Linked DNA regions of Homo sapiens: all the other regions are linked to region 2. Evidence: promoter capture Hi-C in 16 types of primary human blood cells and fetal thymus (Javierre and others, 2016). All regions are on one chromosome and are shown on one strand. The core of a region is centred on a gene start or on the middle of the fragment in contact, and the rest is flanking DNA. Distances in the headings are between cores, read along the strand shown.

The links. The method cuts DNA at HindIII sites, captures the fragments that hold promoters and counts their contacts. A CHiCAGO score of 5 or more calls a contact.
Region 1: a fragment that was not itself captured here is called in contact with the fragment with the promoter of CCKBR in region 2 in 1 of 17 cell types (monocytes); the score reaches 5.5 in monocytes.
Region 3: a contact is called between a fragment that was not itself captured here and the fragment with the promoter of CCKBR in region 2, in 1 of 17 cell types (M1 macrophages). The highest score is 5.6, in M1 macrophages.
Region 4: a contact is called between a fragment that was not itself captured here and the fragment with the promoter of CCKBR in region 2, in 4 of 17 cell types (M2 macrophages, M0 macrophages, M1 macrophages and 1 more). The highest score is 7.5, in M2 macrophages.

The regions. Positions count from the first base shown.
Region 1 is chr11:6,091,196-6,094,340 of GRCh38, forward strand. No RefSeq gene overlaps it. Among named protein-coding and RNA genes, the nearest start is that of OR56B4, 15 kb to the right of the region's middle. The HindIII fragment of the contact is 9,529 bases long and covers 1-3,145 here.
Region 2 is chr11:6,257,907-6,261,166 of GRCh38, forward strand. CCKBR (cholecystokinin B receptor) reads left to right here and starts at 1,932. Exons shown (of 5, transcript NM_176875.4): 1 at 1,932-2,173. The coding sequence starts at 2,023. The HindIII fragment of the contact is 1,486 bases long and covers 1,141-2,626 here.
Region 3 is chr11:6,040,764-6,044,127 of GRCh38, forward strand. No RefSeq gene overlaps it. Among named protein-coding and RNA genes, the nearest start is that of OR56A1, 12 kb to the left of the region's middle. The HindIII fragment of the contact is 313 bases long and covers 1,160-1,472 here.
Region 4 is chr11:6,021,112-6,024,344 of GRCh38, forward strand. OR56A1 (olfactory receptor family 56 subfamily A member 1) reads right to left here. Exons shown (of 2, transcript NM_001388488.1): 2 at 1-3,233. LOC107984303 (a long non-coding RNA gene) reads left to right here and starts at 889. Exons shown (of 4, transcript XR_001748102.2): 1 at 889-977. It also overlaps a transcript of OR56A3 not described here. The HindIII fragment of the contact is 1,112 bases long and covers 1,117-2,228 here.

The sequences.
Region 1 (3,145 bases), core at 388-2,887, 170 kb before region 2:
TTCTTCCTATCCATAAGCATAGACTGTTTTTTCCATTTGTTTGTGTCATCTCTGATTTCTTTGAGCAGTGTTTTGTAGTTCTCTTTGTAGAGATCTTTCACCTACCTAGTTAGCTGTATTCCTAGGTGTTTTATTCTTTCTGTGGCAATTGTGACTAGGACTGTGTTCCTGATTTGGCTTTGGCTTGACTCTTGTTGGTATATAGCAATGCTAGCAATTTTTGTACATTGATTTTGTATCCTAAAACTTTGCTGACGTTATCAGCTTAAGGAGCTTTTAGGCCAACATTATGGGGTTTTCTATATGTAGAGTCATGTCACCTGCAAACAGAGATAGTTTGACTTCCTCTCTTCCTATTTGGATGTGCTTTCTTTCTTTCTCTTGCCTGATTGCTCTGACCAGGACTTCCAATACTATGTTGAATAGGAGTGTTGGGAGAGGACATCATGTCCTATGCTGGTTTTCCAGGGGAATGCTTCCACCTTCTGCCCATTCAGTATAATGTTGGCTGTGGGTTTATCATAGATGGCTTTTATTTATGTTCATGTATGTTTGGTCAATACCTAGTTTATTGGGAGTTTTTAACATGAAGAGGTGTTGAACTTTATCAAAAGCCTTTTCTTCATCTATTGAGATAATCATGTGGTTTTTGCCTTTAGTTCTGCTTATGTGATGATGTGATGAATCACATTTATTGACTCATTTATGTTGAACCAACACAAATGTCAGGAATAAAGCCTACTTGATCATGGTGGATTAGCTTTTTGATGAGCTGCTGGATTCAGTTTGCTAGTATTTTTTTTTTTGAGTATTTTTGCATCAATGTCCATCAAGGATATTGACCTGAAGTTTTCTTTTTGTGTTGTGTCACTGCCAGATTTTGGTACGAGGATGATGCTGGCCCCATAGATTGAGTTGGGGAGCAACTCCTCCTCAGTTATTTGGGAACAGTTTCAGTAGAAGTGGTACCAGTTTTCTTTGTCCATCTATAAGAATTTGTCTGTGAATCTACCTGATCCTGGGCTTTTTTTGATTGGAAGGCTATTTACTACTAATTCAATTTCAAAGTTTTTTGTTGGCCTGTTCAGACATTTAATTTTTCCTGGTTTAGACTTGGGAGTGTGTATGTGTATAGGAATTTTTCTATTTATTCTAGATTTTCTAGTTTGTGTACATAAAATTCATGGTAGTCTCTGATGGTTATTTGTATTTCTGTGGGGTCAGTGGTAACATCCCCTTTGTCATTTCTAATTGTGTTTATTTGGATCTTCTCTCTTTTCTTCTTTATTTGTCTAGCTAGAGGTCTATTTATCTTATTCATTTTTTTTCAAAAAACAAACTCCTAGATTAACTGATCTTTTGATGGTTTTTGATGACTGAATCTCCTTCAGTTCAGCTCTGATTTTGGTAATCTCTTGACTTCTGCTAGCTTTAGGGTTGGTTTACTCTTGCTTCTCTAGTTCTTTTAGTTGTGATGTTAGGTTGTTAACTTGAGACGTCTCTAACTTTTTGATGTGGGCATTTAGTGCTACCAATTTCCCTCTTAACACTCCCTTAGCTGTGTCCCAGAGATTGTGGTATGTTGTAGCTTTGTTCTCATTAGTTTCAAAGAACTTCTTGATTTCTGCCTTAATTTCATTTATTTACCCAAAAGTCATTCAGGAGCAGGTTGTTTAATTCCCATGTAATTGTACGGTTTTAAGCAAATAGTCTTAAATTCTATGTTTATAGCCCTGTGGTCCAGGAGAGTGGTTGGTATGATTTCAGTTCTTTGGCATTTTCTGAGGAATGTTTTACTTACGATTGGGTGGTCAATTTTAAAGTATGTGCCATGTGCAGGTTAGAAGAATGTATATTCTGTTATTTTGGGGTGGAGAGTTCTGTAAATATCTATCAATCAGGTCCATTTGGTCCAGTGTTGAGTTCAGGTCCTAAATATCTTTGTTAATATTCTTCCTTGATGATCTAGCTAATACTGTCAATGGGGTGTTGAAGTCTACCACTATTATTGTGTAGGAGTCTAAGTGTCTTTCAGGGTCTCTATAAACTTGCTTTATGAATCTGAGTGCTCCTGTGTTGGGTACATATATATTTAGGATACGTAGGTCTTCTTGTTGAGTTGAACGCTTTACCATTATGTAATGCCCTTTTTTGCCTTTTTTGATGTTTGTTGGCTTAAAGTCTATTTTGTCTGAAATTAGAATTGCAACTCCTGCTGCTTTCTCTTTCCTGTTTCCTTGGTAGATTTTTCTCTGTCCCTTTATTTTGAGCCTATGGGTGTGATTGCAAATAAGATGGGTTTCTTGAAGACAGCATACCATTGGATCTTGATTTTTTATCCAGTTTGTCACTCTATACCTTTTAATTGGGGCATTTAGCCTGTTTACATTCAAGGTTAATATTGATATGTATGGATTTGATCCTGTCATCATGTTGTTGGCTAGTTAATATGCATACTTATTTGTGCGGTTGCTTTATAATGTCACTAGTCTGTGTACTTTATTGTGTTTTTGTAGTGGCTGGTAATGGTCTTTCCTTTCCATATTTAGTGCTTTTTTCAGGAGTTCTTATAAGGCATGTTTGGTGGTAATGAATTCCCTTAGCAGTTTCTTGTCTGAAAAGGATCTTACTTCTCCTTTGCTCATGAAGTGTTTCATTTTTTGTCAATACCACACTATGTTAATTATTGTAGCTTAATAATATATCTTACTTGCATAGTATGAATTCTTCAATCTTGTTCTCTAATGAACTTTGATGTAAAACCTGTCACCAGGCTACAGATTATAGGTTAGCTTTTCCAGATATGTCAATAGGAATTTTCAAACATGTGAATGAAATCACAATAATCTCATTATATATTATCAAATTTATGAATATCATGCTGATGGGAAGGCATTAGAGTATAAGCAATTTTCATGAATCTGCCCTTTATTTTTTCACAAGCCAATAGTCCCAAGTTTTCTATTGATTGTAACTCTTAACACTCATGAAGGCTTGGATCAAAATGCCTGGCCATACAAATCTTAGCCAGTTTATTTTCAAAATTTTATTGTATCTTATTAAGTCTGAGTGATAGGAAGAAAGGGGCACTCTTTAGTTTGTAGGGCTTTACAGAGTTTCTTTATACTCATATGTAGGATGTGGG
Region 2 (3,260 bases), core at 682-3,181:
GGGTTCTGGGCTTTGCATCACAGCATCCAGCGCAGGGGTGAAGGAGCATAGGGGAGTAAGGCATCAATAATAATTCCTAAATTTCTGATTTGTACATCCTGGTGGGTGCACTTAACGACCATATATTACAATCATTGGCTTGCTTGGGAAAATCCCACTAGAGTAGGTGCTACTGAGGGGCAAACTATATTGGACAACTAGTGCATACCCCTAGAACTGGCATAGTTTGCTAAATAAGTGAATGTCCATCTATTTCTATTTTCACTCCCCTCTCCCTTACATCCTTTGCTCCCTTCCCTCCTCATCGTACTGTCATCCAATGTGGGAAAACTTGAGCAGGTTATCTGAGGCCCCACCTGTGCTGGAGCGGAACAAATAGCAAATCAAGCTCCTCTGGTCCAGGCTCTCTGATGGGCAAGACAGGCAGTACCAGGAGGAAGGAAAGGGGGAGCAGTTGATGACATCTCAGGCATAAACTGTCTTTCAACTCTCTTTCAATGCTTCAGCCCCTATAAACTCAGGGCTGGCTGAACCAGGTCCTCTCCAAAAGATTAATTGGATAAGGGCCTGCTGAATCCCCCATAAAGCCAGACTCCATTCTCTAATTTGCTCTTCCACTGATGCCCGCCCCCAACCTCTTACAGCTACTGCTGGGGGTCAGAAGAATTTCACATCGTATTGGAGTTCATCCGGAATCTGAAGAATGGATAGGAATCTGGAGATAGGAATCTGGAGATAGGAATCTGGGGAAGAAAAGGAATGGATAGGAGAATGCATAGGGAGCAGGGCTGAAATAGTAGAAGAGGCAAATCCTGCCCCGAGAAGCTGAACCCAGTTCAGTCCTGCACCCTTCAGCCCTGTTCCCGCTGCACCGCAGTGACCCAGTCCCCTTCTAGCCCCCTCTCGTGGGAACCTGACACCCTACACAGGCAGCTCTGCCTGCACTGAGAGCAAACAGGGAGCGTTAGCGTGTCGGGTGGGCGTGGGCGCTGCCTGGAGACGGTGGAGAAAGCCAACCTTCTCCTTCTCTTTTGCCTGCGCTGGGCCGGCGTTAGAATTATATCCCATCCTCACCTTACTCTGGTTTATCCTTGTCAGTGCTTGCCACCACCCCCAACTGCCCTCAACACTCAAGTCAGAAGCTTCCTCCCGGGAGCCCTTTTCCCTGGCAAGGCTTCCCTGGAGCCAAATCTCGGCCCCGGCCCCACCCCCACTCCCGCCCAGCTGTGGAGGGCTCCTTGGGACCCTTAAGTGCAAGCCTGAGTGTTAAGCCTCAGACAGGAGATGGAGGGTGCGGAGACAGATGCAGGAGCTACCCCAGGCCCGCAGCGAGGAGCTGCAGGGAACTACGGTAGCAATAGTGTCACGGTCACTGCGGCCACTGCAACACAGTACGGTAAATGCGGCTCTAGGCTCAGACTAAAGCATCCGCGCCTCAGCAGGTGACGCACGCAGACCTGGTCTCCAACGCCACCTCCACGTTCCCTGATACACCAGAGAAAGATGCTGGATCCGTGGCAGCCGTCTCTACCCAACCCCTCCTACCCTCCCTTCCCCGAAACCTCCCCCTACGCTGCCAATACTCTTGTCTTCAATCTCTCTCTCTCTCTCTCTCTCTCTCTCTCTCTCTCTCTCTCTCTCTCATTCCTGGGAATCGGGGGTGGGGGCGGGTGATAAAGAGAGGTGGGCAGGAGAGAAATCTCTAAGAGGAGACGGGACACATCTAGGGAGGGGGCGAGCCTGGAGGACAGTCGCACAGGGAGGGGCAGAACTCCCGAGCCAGGGAGGGGGTGCACAGTCACCTGGCGGGACAGAGGCTGGCGGAGGGACGGGAACCCAGGCGGGGCGAGCCGCGGGAGAGTGGAGGGCAGGCGCCTGGGCTGGGGGCGGGGACCAGGCGGGGCAGGGGGCAGGGAGAGGAGGGCGGCGGGAGCCTGAGCCGGAATCGCAGCGTGAGCAGGTGGAGCCGCGTTGGGAGCCCGCCGGGTCGAGCTGAGTAAGGCGGCGGGCTCGGCGGGGGCCATGGAGCTGCTAAAGCTGAACCGGAGCGTGCAGGGAACCGGACCCGGGCCGGGGGCTTCCCTGTGCCGCCCGGGGGCGCCTCTCCTCAACAGCAGCAGTGTGGGCAACCTCAGCTGCGAGCCCCCTCGCATTCGCGGAGCCGGGACACGAGGTGGGTGCCTCCCTCAGCCCCCCCCACAAGCTATTTCTCACTGTACCCCAGAACACTAATAGAGTCCCCCCAACGAGCTCCACACTACCTTCTCAAACGTCCACACCGTGCCTCTCATAGTACTCCCTCAGCCCCCAAACAGCTCCCCTCACACCTTCACCCCCACAGCCTACAACTTCATCACAGCTTCACACCACCTGGTCGGAACTCCTTCACATCCTGGTCCCCTGAATACACCTAGAGCCCCTGCTCACCCCAAAGCACAGCCCCTTCCCCAACACGCAGCCCCTCCTAGACACCAGTCAGAAGGCGAGGACCTCCTCTTGCCAACCCTGCAGATCTCCTTTTCCCTCTTACATCCAGTTCACAGAGCCACAACAGAGAAGGGAAGGAAGAAAGGAAGGCAGGACTGGGAAAAGAAGGGGGCTGGTTGAGGGAGGGAGCACTCTGGAAAGCTTGAATGCGAAGCTGAAGTTGTGATCACATCTGACACCCCAGCCCCCAGCCATCCCAAAAAAGATCCTCAAATCTGAATTAGGCTGGACACTAGGGGATGCTCCTTAGAGCTGCCTGCCTCCATTTCACTCCTTCTCAAACCCCTCTGCCTCCCTAGTTGGAGCTTTCGAGGCTCTGTGCCCTCTCTCTTTGTCTGCAAGTAATGTCTCCAGCTATCTTCCAAGCTCTCTCTCCAGCCCTAGGCTAGGTGCTGGGGGCACAGGGCAAACTAGACCCAGTCTGGACCCTCATGGCCCATAGCCAAGTGCAGAGAGAAACCAAGCAAATGGAAAAATCACAGACACAATGGAAGTCCCATGAAAGGGTCTAAACTGTGGGCACCAAAAGAACTTCACAGAGGCTAGAACCTTAGAGCTGGGTCTTGAAGTTGAGTAGGCAGAAAAGGAAGGAGTGGGATTCTAGGTGAAGGAGCAATGTTAAGCAGAAGGAAATTTTTCTAAACTCAAAAAGGGAAAGTTGGAATAAATTGTAATCCAAGTATTTATTTACCCCACGAAATAATCTATGCTTTCTCAGCCGAGTTGTTACACACTCACACTTGGATTCTGTCATTCAGCCAATATTTATTGAA
Region 3 (3,364 bases), core at 66-2,565, 220 kb before region 2:
CAGCAGGCTAATCAGCTACAAACTTTGTTGCGTGTCCCTGAAACCAATACCAAATGAAATTTCGTCTTGTTTTGTGTCCTTAAGAGCTTAACCCTGGGACTGTGTGGGGATATTTTCTCTTGGTCTCCACCATCTAGAGGACAGAAACTTGGGGGTTCACATTATAGTTAGCCCTAAAAATTATCTTGAGCAGTTAAAAGCCTTTTCATGCTTGAAATTGGCTGCTCTAGGCTTCTGGAAAGAGCAATAGAAACTGCTCAATGCTGTGTAGCTCAGTAGCTGACGCTTTATCTTTTGACAATTGTGGCAAGGGTTCAATTCTTGGCTTCCGGAAGCATTCCTTCCTGGTTTGTTATTTGTGTAACTTTGCCATTTATTGAGGGTTTTTTCGCCCATGGATAGCCTCTGATTTCCTGTCTTGAATTTTCCTTTCCCTGAACTACCCTTGGGGAGATTCTAAATCTTGTAAAAATAGAAACTACTTACCGTCTCTTTGAGATATCTTATGCATCCATAGTTAAGTTAACCTTAGTTAAAACTTATTAATTAATTTCATGTGGGAAATTACCTATGGCAGAATTCAAAAGCCAGAAATATTGGCTGTTCTAGCTAGAGTCTGGTAATAAAAGATTTAAAAGAATTTCTTTTTAGAAAAAAATAGCTCTATGGCTAAAATCAGCTTAATTAAAAACAGATATCCAAGTTAAATGTATTTAAGAGAGCTTTATCTTTTTCCTCTTCTGGAATCATGTTCTTCTGAAAGTTTTTTTCTTTTCAGTAGACTGAATTGTTTTTCTCCATTTTGTCTTCTTCCCACTCTTGATGCCCACATGAGAGAACCTAAGATAAATTCTAACAGCCTGGGACTCCTGGGGAAAAGCAGAGGAGGCACCACAGAAAAACCTAGGAAAAACCTCTGTTTTCGTCACAGAAGCCCAAGAATGGAAAGAGAATAGATCCCTCTCAAAATCTAAGACACTGTTCTGTTTTGCATTGTATTACCTGACAGTTTTGACTTTTGGGGGTATCAAAAATTACTTTGTGTTATGGGAGAGCTTTTAGCCTTGGTGTGTAATAACTAGGTAGGAAATATACTTTAAGGGATGGCTAATGGCAGTTATGGAGAGATACTTGGCTCTTTACATGCCTGGATCAGAGAAGCTTGCCCTTGGCCACCTGGAAGATATGGAAACATACCCACCTCCTACTGAGAGGTGAGACTCTCAGGGGAATGGGCTGATTACACAATGGACTGATTGGCTTTGGGTTGCCTTGCAATGAAATGCATGGTGAAAACACTGCACAGTTTGAATTGTCATTATCCAGTTTTAGAGACAAGGTTACTCTAGCTTCATAAAATAAGTTGGTAAAAATTTTCCATCTTTTTCTATTATCTTGAAGAATGCATGCATGATAGAGATGATCTATTTCTTAAAATTTTAGAACTCACCTATAAACCCATAGTGTACTGAAGCTTTTGTTGGGAAAAGGTCTTTAATTAATATTTCAAATTTTTAATGGTTATTTATATATTTGAGTTTTATTATCTGAAGCTACTGGTGATTTTTAAATTTTTAGTTTTTCAAATTCATTGGCATAAAAGTTATTCAGAACATTATGCAGAATTTTGTTGTTTTCTTATATGTTTGACTCTGTTAGTTGTCTTTTCAACACCCATTTCCGTCTCACTATCATCCCCTCTCCATTTCTTCCTTGATAGAAGATATCTAATTTATTTCAGATATTTAGCCCTTCATGAAGTTCCCTCACATGCATATGCTAATCAGTACATTGCTGAACACTCAAGGGGGAATTTCTATAAATCTTTAGGATTCTCTTTCTATGGAGTTTTCTCTTCCTCAATACTCTGCCTTGTGAACTCTAGCTTCTTTGGACTCCCTTCCCCTTCTCCTCGACACAGAAAGATTGCCAGGCTGCAGCTGAGTTTGCCCTCTCTTTGACGTAGCATGGAATCTCTCCCTAACGAATTGAAACAATCACTTTCCAGTAAACAAGACTCACCTTTTTTGTTTCCTATCTCTTGGGGATCACTGTCCTCCATTGCCTGATGTCCAGTGCCTTCAGAAACATTATTTCACATATTTTGTTCAGTCTTTTAGTTATTTCAAGTGACAGGGTAATCTAGCTCCTGTTACTTCATATTGACCAGCTAAAGTCCCTCTTGAGTATATAAAATCATGCTATACCAGCATATCAAAGCACAATTTAACTCTTATCTCCTCACTGGGTTCATGGTTGGATTTGCGGCTGCATGAGCCTCATCCTTCTCCACAGTCAAGAGAGATCAGGCCAGGCACGGTGGCTCATGCCTGTAATCCCAGCACTTCAGAAGGCCGAGGTGGGTGGACCACCTGAGGTTGGGAGTTCTAGACCAGCCTGGTCAACATGGTGAGACCCCGTCTCTACTAAAAATACAAAAATTAGCCGGGCATGGTGGCGTATGCCTGTAATCTTAGCTACTCAGGATGCTGAGTCAGGAGAATCTCTTGAACCTGGGAGGCAGAGGTTGTGGTGGGCTGAGATCCAGCCATTGCATTCCAGCCTGGGCAACAAGAGCGAAACTCTGTCTAAAAAAATAAAATAAAATAGAGTTCTATTTCACAGCTGAAGCTTTCATATCTTAGAAGGACTATGCATCACAGTGAAAGAAAATATACGTCTGTAGGAACCTGAGGTCAGAATGATTTGGGGACTCCAAAATGTATCTAAAACATTTGATAAAAATAAATTTTAGCATAGGAAAAGGGCAGCAGCATCCAGAAATGGGAAATCAAGTGAAATGCAACTAATGCAGGACCTTCAGGATTAAGAATGGCATTTGAATGTTTTTAAGTAAAACGTCTACCCAAACTTTCTTTCTTGTGTGTGCAATCAGATGTGTGACCAGAATTAACGAGACTGTCTTAGGGAAGACCATGTAACTATAAACCTTTTCTCAGGAAGCTAAGCAAGCACAACCTCCAAGTCAAAATTCCATAGAGTGAAAGCAAGGGCCAGCAAGGGCAACTGTCTTCTCACTGGGCTCATGGTTGGATTTCTGGCTGCATAAGCCTCATCCATCTCCACAGTTAGCAGAGATCTCTTCCCAGCTAAAGCTTTAGTTCATCTAATATTTGCAATTTTACATTCAAAAGATATTTCACAGAACAAAGAAGATCATATTTGATGGAAACAAGAGATTAAATTATAGTGGCCCTTACTTTCACCCTATGGAATTTTGCAAATAAGAATTATCTCTGACTTCGTTTGGTTCTGGAGAGCCCAATCTCTGTCTTAGCCCATAAAAAAGGGAAGCTTATATCAATATTTCTTGAATAACCAAAGAGTGAAGCTGACAAAACCC
Region 4 (3,233 bases), core at 423-2,922, 240 kb before region 2:
TAATGGAAATTATGCCTAAGAAAATCCTTTGAGTGTGATCACTAGCACATTGAACTGACCTGATACAGATAGATCAAAAACCTATTAGGCCTTCGAGGGGGTTTATTGCCAAAGAAACATGAACTTGACTTTTGAAGAAAGTTTTTGCTTTAGAATTTAAAAAATGTATTGATCCTACACAAATTACAATTAGAAAGGAGAAACAAGTACTAGTGTTTTACAGAACTAAAGGATGATAATAGTCAACAATATATTGTATATTTTCAAATAGCTAGAAGAAAGAATATTGAATATACCCAACACAAAGTAATGATAAATGTTTGAGATGATGGATATGCTAATTACCCTGATCTGCTCACTACACGTTGTATGTAACTTCATAAATATGTATAATTATTATGTATCAATTTTAAAATGAATAATTAAATAAAAAATTATTTAAAGTACTGATACTAATATTTTATAAGTAGAAAGTAGGTTCAAATGCAGTGTCACTCCAAAAGAAGTCACATTGTTCGATGCCTGCTTCATTTAGGATAATGGGAACATTAATAAAGGCACATTTAGGATAATGGGAACATTAATAAAGGCACAAACCCCCAAAGGCAGATGGCATTAAAAAAACAATAAAAAGCAATGATCAGGACATTGAAAACAATGATCAGGAGAGTTCCTCCTAGAGAACGCAAACAATGTCTAGTCAAGAAACTTGTCCCCCTCTCAGTAAGTAAAAATATTGCAATATCTGCTCCTAAAGCATTCTCGCATTACTATTAAGTTACTGCTAACTGAATTCTACACTTCATTTCCAGTTGGAAATCATCTGCTCCGCCATTAATAGAGAGACAGAATATCACTGGTGAAAGAGAAATCACAATGGGATCTGATGGAGAAGGCCACACACATCTGTAGGTCTTGGATTTTTTGCTGCATAGAGTAATCAGATGAGAGCTTGGGTGGTCTCCCTTGATAAGGAGGTAAGCCTATTGTCTATGTAGGAAAAAGAGAAATGAAAATTTATGATCAAGGCTCTTTTGCAAGCAGCTGGATCTATGTGAGGAGTCTGGCCGATGAAATGATAGAGAAAGTGATGTGTCTCCTAGTTTGGGGCCCTAAAGCTTACAAAATCCTGCATATTCTTTCTCTTTCTGGCTTGCCACCCAGATTCAGAAGCACCAGTGAAGGTCTCTAAGAGCCCAGAACATGGAGGATCCACATAATAAAAAAAGCATGGGTCCCTAAATGTTGATGTGGAGCAAAGCCCTCATGCATTGGAATGAGGTGTGGGTGAGAAGTAAATTTTATTGTGTTAGGCCACTGTGCTATCATTGTTACAGTAGCTAACTTTAATTGCATTGACTAATTCAATGCGTGTGGGTTTTTAGTGTACTCTGCCTTTGATATCTATAATCTGGAGTATGAAAAACTTAGGAAACTACAAAGCTATCCAGTGAAAGATTAAAAATATACCTCAATCCCTAGACTCTGAAGAAGCAAAAATGGGTTTATGTAGCAAAATGCCTTACTTCTCAATTTTAACTCTGGTCCCTATTGATTAAATGACTATGTATAATTTATCATTTTGCTCAGTTGCCTCATCTGCAAAAATGGGAATTATAATTCATGGGCTATTTTGACCATAATCTCTCTAAAACTTAGTTTTCCTGTATGTTCAGAGTGCTAATCACACGTAAAGAACTCAATAACTAATTTTTGGTTGAATAGGTGCAGAAATGTTGTTATTATATACAGTACTCAGCCAAATGCTGATAGTGTAATATGTTATGAAACACTAAGGATATTCACTATTCTTATGAATACCTGACTCATGTCAGTGATTTGGTATTGACTTTTAAATGTTGCTGAAGAAAAGAAAATCATGGTATAAATTGGTATGTCTCTTTTATTTGTTAAATTAATCACTCAAGTCCCTATGTGCCCTATGAGCAGGAAGTACAGGAGTTTTCTAAACGGACTTGTCACGTTCTCTTTCAAACACCTGAGACTGAGAACTGGCATTCAATACAGTACCGTTATTCCCACAAATAGCCACAAAGGGGCAATGTTGACTTGCCAACTATGAAGAGTTTGCTTAACTTCAGACGTTGCTGTTTAAGTTCTACAGTTGCAGTCTTGATGCTATAAACTTTCTCTGATGTCTCAGAACTCTCACTGCCTAGAATATACACCAAAGCATAATAAAGTATCAGGATGGCTAGGCACTAAAAAGCTTTCTGTGATAAATGGAAAGTGTAGTATTGTTCCCTCAACAATACTTAGGTGTTTGTTTTGAGCTTTGGCTACCAACATAGGGTCCCTTCTTTTTCCACCTTAATTCCAGAGGACTTGCTATTCTTTCTTTCCACTGGCCTTGATTTAAGTCAGCTATGGTATTGAATAGCAATGTGCAATGATATCAGATCTTCCTGCTCAAGAGGCTGTGTTCCTCACACAAATATGACTAACCTGCAAACCAGGGAGTGAGGGGAGTGACCTTTGGAAAGCTACTCCTGTCTCTCTTCTCATGTTCTGAATGCACCCTCTTCCAATGCAGTTGGAACATATTCAGGTTGTATCAGCAAAGCAAATCTTCATAGACTTCCTCAGTTTTGAAAAACTGACAAAACATTGGTACCCCATCCATTTAAAATGCCTTTAATTTATACTACTTCATTATATCCACTCAAGACAGTGCTTGAAAACCTTTACAGAGAGGACATGTTTTAACATTTTGCTATGGGAACTTCACAGCAGAGTTGGGTCTGCCCTTCATGGTCTGATTCTTTGGTTATCTTGCTCCTTTATCATCTGTATGAGGATTTACTTCAAAGCCTATCTAGGACCCTTGAGACCAGTTATTTTACCACTTGCAGTGAGCTTGACAATTTTGTGAGAAATCTGTGGTCCTCTAAACCTCTATACTTAGAACCAGAGCAGAGAGCCAACTTTTCAAGTATGTGGTTTATCCATTTGTTACGTTTAGGACTCTACTACTGGGGAACTAGAGATTAAAGATAGACATGATTTTTCAACTCTTCTTTTAGCCAATTCAATATCATAAGTAAGGAAATGTTTACTGAGCCCCTCAATATGTGAGAGCTGTGCTAGTTACTGTGAGGGGTGATCACTGTTGTCCCACTGCTGTCTTGGTCCCTCCATCCTTTACAAATCCCTACAACAAAGTTGGTAGTTTCTATCCCTATGTACACCCAGTTTGAGTCAAGCATCTCATA